Linked DNA regions of Homo sapiens: region 1 is linked to region 2. The links are contacts of gene promoters, found by promoter capture Hi-C in human tissues and cell types (Jung and others, 2019). All regions are on one chromosome and are shown on one strand. Each heading gives the region's core, a stretch centred on a gene start or on the middle of the fragment in contact. The rest is flanking DNA. Distances are from core to core; before and after follow the strand shown.

Region 1 (2,700 bases), core at 116-2,615, 70 kb before region 2:
ATCCACTGGCCTCAGCCTCCCAAAGTGCTGAGATTACAAGTGTTAGTCACCATGCCCGGCCCAGAAATCCTAAATTCTTTTTTTTTTTTTTTTTTTTTTTTGGAGATGGAGTCTCACTCTGTCACCCAGGCTGGAGTGCAGTGGCATGATCTTGGCTCACTGCAACCTCTGCCTCCCAGGTTCAAGCCATTCTCCTGCCTCAGCTTCCTGAGTAGCTGGGATTACAGGGGCAGGCTGCCCCTGTATATTATTCTTATTTTAGTAGAAACGGGGTTTCACCGTGTTGCCCAGGCTAGTCTCGAACTGCTGAGCTCAGGCAATCCGCCTGCCTCAGCCTCCCAAAGTGCCGGGATTACAGTCATGAGCCACTGCGCCTGGCCCAGAAATCCTAAATTCTTAATGTAGCCCAGAAGCCCTATCGAAACCATCTTTGCCGGCCTCTTCAGTCTCAGATCCTGCTACAAGTAATGCGCACCTCAGGGCCCCTGCGTATGTTGTTCTCTTTCCTCTTTCCCTAGCTAACTCCCACTCACAGGTCTTATCCTAGTTTGCGGTGATTTGACTGTGATTAACTGCCAGTGCCTGGTATTTGCCTCATTCACAGTAGGTATTTAATAGCTATTGAATGGCTGAATAAGTAGATAAATCCTTTCTCTGCTGCCATGGATCTTGCAGCTATGCCCCCATCTACCTATCTAGTCTCCCCAAGTGTTCTCTGCCCCGCACAAGCTCCCCAAAGCACCAGCACTTTCTATCAACATTCACTCGTTTATTTTTTCATTCATATGACAAATATTTTTTAAGTGCTTACTCTCTGTTAGGCATCCTCCTAGGTTCTGGAAGATACAGCAGGGAATAAACATGATTTTCTCTGGAATGTTTATCCTGCTGTCTTCCATCTATTCTTAGCAAACTCCTACTCATCTTTCAAAACTCAATGCTAATGTCCCATTTTCCAAGAAGGCTTTTCCCAAACTTCTCCCTTGTACCACTCTCAAACTTGTGTGGCCCATCAAGTGATGGGGGTCTGGGGTTGGGGATACCCAAGGAGTGGGGGATGGTCTGTTCATAGGCAGTGAATCAGGGGCCTAAGGTAACTCCAACTCCTGCCTCCTCCCTCAGGCTTGTTTTCCGGCCACTTAGCAACTCCATGGAGAAATGGCTGCCAGGCACACCTTTTGTTTGCACAGAAATAACCAAAGACCAGAAATCCAGGCTGACTGGCAGCACAAGGAGGGGCCCCTTAGGAGGACATGTAAGGGCTAGGGTGTGGAGTTGGAGCAGATTCCAACATCAGACCCTGAGTAAACCAAAGGCAGAGGCCAGTTCATCTGGGCAACTGGTGTGGGGCTTCTGTGTCATAGGCAGGAGTTAGGGGCAGGGTCTGCAATGGGTACATGGCAGGAGGCCTCATGGTCCTGCCTTCTGCTCCACTGCACAGTGGGCCAGACTTTTGAAAGTTCCTCCTGCTATCTGATCCAAGTTTGCATGCTGCCATTCCATCCCAGTTCAGGATGGGTCTTCTTGTGTTCTTGGGGATTTGAGTTGCTCCTCCTGCCTCCTCTTAGTGTCCTCCAAGGCTCTGGCCCCTTACAGGGGTCATTGATCCTGAGAGGTTCAGTGATTTCTCTGAGGCCACACAGTGAGTCTTCTGGCAGAAGGTACTGGAGGGCTGGGGGCTGGGTCAGAGCAGGGTGATCTCGCTGGGGGGCAATGTGAGCCGCTTCTCATGGGCACTGAGCAGGTTCTCCACGTGCACGGCCACCACACGACACAGTTCCAGTCCCTGCAGGTGACAGTGACAGTCCACGCCCATCCAACACTTCCCCAGCTCTTACCTTGGGGTGGGAAGTACAGAATGGAGAGGTGGTTGGGAGATAGGTGGAGACCATCATTCATGCAGGGACCCTTGTCCCCACCTCCCCCAGGGCCTGAGAGGAGCATGAAGAGCTGGAAGGCCGAATGGTGGGGTGTGGGCTGCAAGGGGTAAGCAAGCAGGAGACCAAGTGCCTCTTCCGGCTTTGCTCCGTGTGAGCTGTGTGACCCAGGGTCTATCGCTTCACCTCTCTGAGCCTCAGTGGCCTCATCTGTAAGGTCTCAATTGACCAGGGGCCTGCCTCACAGACAGGGCTGTGGTGAGGATTCAGTGAGGCTTTATTGCATGTAAATTCTTTTTTTTTTTTTCCTAGATGGAGTTTCGCTCTGTCGCCAGGCTGGAGTGCAATGGCGCGATCTCGGCTCACTGCAACCTCCGCCTCCCAGGTTTAAGCGATTCTCCTGCCTCAGCCTCCCGAGTAGCTGAGACTACAGGCATGCACCACCACGCCCAGCTAATTTTTGTATTTTTAGTAGAGACGGGGTTTCACCATGTTGGCTAGGATGGTCTCCATCTCTTGACCTCATGATCTGCCCACCTCGGCCTCCCAAAGTGCTGGGATTACAGGCATGAGCCACCGCGCCCGGCCACGTGTAAATTCTTTAGATTTAAAAAATATGAATCCAATCAATAAATGGTAACAGTTTCTAACTGTCTGTTGCCATGGTTACCGCCTGGCTCCCACAGTGCACAATGGGCAGTGACCCAGGCTTAGTGCTCCCAATTGGAGCAGGGTAGGGGAAGGCATCAGGGAATTGCGGAAATCAATCTGTGAATGTGGTTCTCAGACGAAAGCCATTGTTGGAATCCCCCCAGGGAAGCTG
Region 2 (2,700 bases), core at 151-2,650:
GGCTTGGTGCAGCTGGGGGGTGCGGGGAGTGTCTCTGAGGTGAGGCCGGGGGTATGGGAACGCCATGTTTGGTCTGGGACACGGTGGGCTTGGGATGGCTACAGGACAGTGCAGTGGAGAGTCAAAAAGGCTGCTCGGACCCAGGTCTGGCGAGATGGAAGCTGGAGGTCAGGTGAGCTGTCTAGGAGAGGGACAGAGTGGGAAGGAGAGGGTCTCGACTCGGCTTTCTTGCCAAAGGAGGGTTCCGAAATGAGAAACTGTGGAATCTAAGCTGGAGAGGAAGAAAGACGGAGAATGAGTGAACGCACACGTGTGGGACAGATAGATGAATATTCATGTCTTTGGCTCCTATGTACCTGAGTCTTCTAAAGCTGCAGGCCATACTACCCCCGGGAGGCTGCAGGGATGCCAGCTGGGAGATGAATGCAACTCTGCTGCCTGGGCATGGGCCTGAGTGAGGGTGCAGACCCCTGCCTGTGATCATCAGGGAGGGTGATGAGAACAAGGTGGCTGACAGGGTGAGGCCCAAGCCTGGAGCTTACCCAGGTGCGGGGATGGGAGGGTCAGAGACCTTTGGGGGGTCTTAGGGAGCTTCCCCAGCCCTAAAGGCACCGCAAGCTGCCACTTCACACTGACCTGGGCATACGCAGCTGCAGGATCCCTTGCTCGCTCTCTCACAAGCAAATGTAGACTGCGCAACCATCCTGACCACAGATCCAGAAAGCCCAGGACATAACAGAGCCGCAGTGCCTGCCCTGATCCACGCGCACACAGATCTAGCCCAGGAACAAGCCCATCCACGGTGAGGAACTTGTGGCCCAGTGGCTGGAGCCTCTCACCTGAGCCCTCACTGCCTGAGGACCCCCAGCCTCTGGCCTCATTTCCCACCCTTTGCCAGCCAGCCTTGGGGACAAAACAGGTCTGGATCTAATCCAAGGTCTGGACTCACCCTGACACCCTGTGAACTCAAGGCCTTCCCTACCTCACCCTGGGCCCAGAGCCCCTACCTGTAAAGTGGAAGTGGGAATGGCCACCAGCCAGGCAGAAACCCTCACTTAGGGCCTCATGGCCAGGCATCAGGACAGTCAGGAGAGGGGCCGAGGTAAGCCACAGAGGCCCTGCCTGTCTTGGTATCCCACCATCGCCAGGAGGGGACTGCATGGGCATCACACCCCTCACAGATGAACAAAGTGAGGCAGAGAAGGGCCTCAAGATGAGTTAGGGGCGAGGCCCCAGCTCTGCTGCTGCCCCTTCCCTTATCACCCCTGCAGCCTGGGATGCGAGGGTGGCCAGTGACAGACCCCAAGGACTCTAGGCTAAGGTCTCCTTACCTGCGTTCTGTGGCCTGCTCCCCGCCTGCATGCCGCCTCATGGGGGTCCTCTGGCTGGCCCAGGAGCACGGTTGGCCCAGCAGAGCAGCTCAGTGTTATGGGGAAGGGAGGCCCAGCCCACCACGCCGACCGCCTGGGGCCCTATGTATATTTAATGATGTCTATTATTCCTGTTTTGTCTCTGGAAAGGAGTGAGCAGCTGACAGGGGAGCCACGAACAGCCTGGAGAGCTGAGCATGGGCCTGCTCCACACTCCAGCGGGGCCCGAGGCCCCCGGGAACTCTACCCCTCCTGGCAGCCTCACAGAACCTGCTGCATCCATCTCAAAAGGCATACCTCCTCCAGGAAGCCTTCCCCGCTGCTCAGAGGTCTTAAATCCGGGGTCTGCACTCACAAACTGTGCAGCCTACACCAGCTTCTGGGGGACAGCAGAACACTGTGGGGGGCCTGGCACAGTCCCTGGCACACGGTAGGCACTCATCGAGCCCCTGCCAGCCCCTCTACTCCTGACTTCTGAGGCAACAGGAAATGACCCGCCACCTTGTTCTCACAGAGCCTCCCTGCCAGCCCAGATGGTCACAAGGGCCTCCTGGGATGCTGCCCACCTTGGCAGCCAGGCCCCTCCGGAGGGGCCAGTCTGGGCCTGACACCCCCGAACACCAACCCCCTGGGCAGAGCCTGCCTGTGCCTGGGTGAGGAACCCTGCAGTCTCCTTGCCACACAAGGCCTGGGTCTGCCTTGGGGCCCAGGCTGCACCCTCTCCGACCCCCAGGCCCAATGTCTGACCTGTGCCCACCTGACTCAACCTGGCTACTGTTCAGCAAGTTTACAAAGTGTTCTCAGTCTGAACAGGAACCGTTTTCAATCCTTTATTTCAGAAAGGAGAGCCAGGAGAACTGGGGACTTAGAAAATACAGATCCTAAACTCAAAAGTCCCTGCCCCAGGCGTGCAGAGCCAGGGTCCTGGGGTTTTGTGCTGGGCAGGGGCTGCCCTGGGAGGGGGAATACAGGGGGAGGCACTTTAGGACACCCCTTAGGCTGTGGAGGGTGTCAGCTGGGCCTTTGAAGCCACTAACCACTGGTTCCCATCATGGAGAGCCCTGTGTGGGGCACCCAAGGGGGTTTCCTCCTGGAAGGGCCCCCAACCCAAGTGTCAGAGAAGCTGGCAAGAGCTGAGGGAGTGAGGTGCCATGACAGCAGCCACAGCCTCCAGGGACCCAAACAGGCCCAGCTACCAGCCTGGCACTGAGCATGCCATCTGCTTTAGGCCCTGGCTGGCGGGCATGTGGGCAACTTGCTCCCTCAGTGCAGGGGGCTGGGAGGCACAGATGCAGGCTCAGCACTACAAACTCAAAACCCCCATGAGAGG

What was found. Contacts are between HindIII fragments. The study calls those that stand out against the background at their distance.
Region 1: a contact is called between a fragment that was not itself captured here and the fragment with the promoter of MYO15A in region 2, in 3 of the 25 tissues and cell types used here (dorsolateral prefrontal cortex, mesenchymal stem cells and psoas muscle).

The regions. Positions count from the first base shown.
Region 1 is chr17:18,177,855-18,180,554 of GRCh38, reverse strand. MYO15A (myosin XVA) reads right to left here. Exons shown (of 66, transcript NM_016239.4): 66 at 755-1,786. The coding sequence ends at 1,685. Among named protein-coding and RNA genes, the nearest start is that of ALKBH5, 4.6 kb to the left of the region's middle. The HindIII fragment of the contact is 6,024 bases long and covers 1-2,700 here.
Region 2 is chr17:18,107,456-18,110,155 of GRCh38, reverse strand. MYO15A (myosin XVA) reads right to left here and starts at 1,400. Exons shown (of 66, transcript NM_016239.4): 1 at 1,332-1,400. DRG2 (developmentally regulated GTP binding protein 2) reads right to left here. Exons shown (of 13, transcript NM_001388.5): 13 at 2,187-2,700. It overlaps LOC105371566 (a long non-coding RNA gene), which reads left to right. Exons shown (of 3, transcript NR_164159.1): 3 at 1,521-2,465. RefSeq lists an enhancer at 2,457-2,700. The HindIII fragment of the contact is 16,274 bases long and covers 1-2,700 here.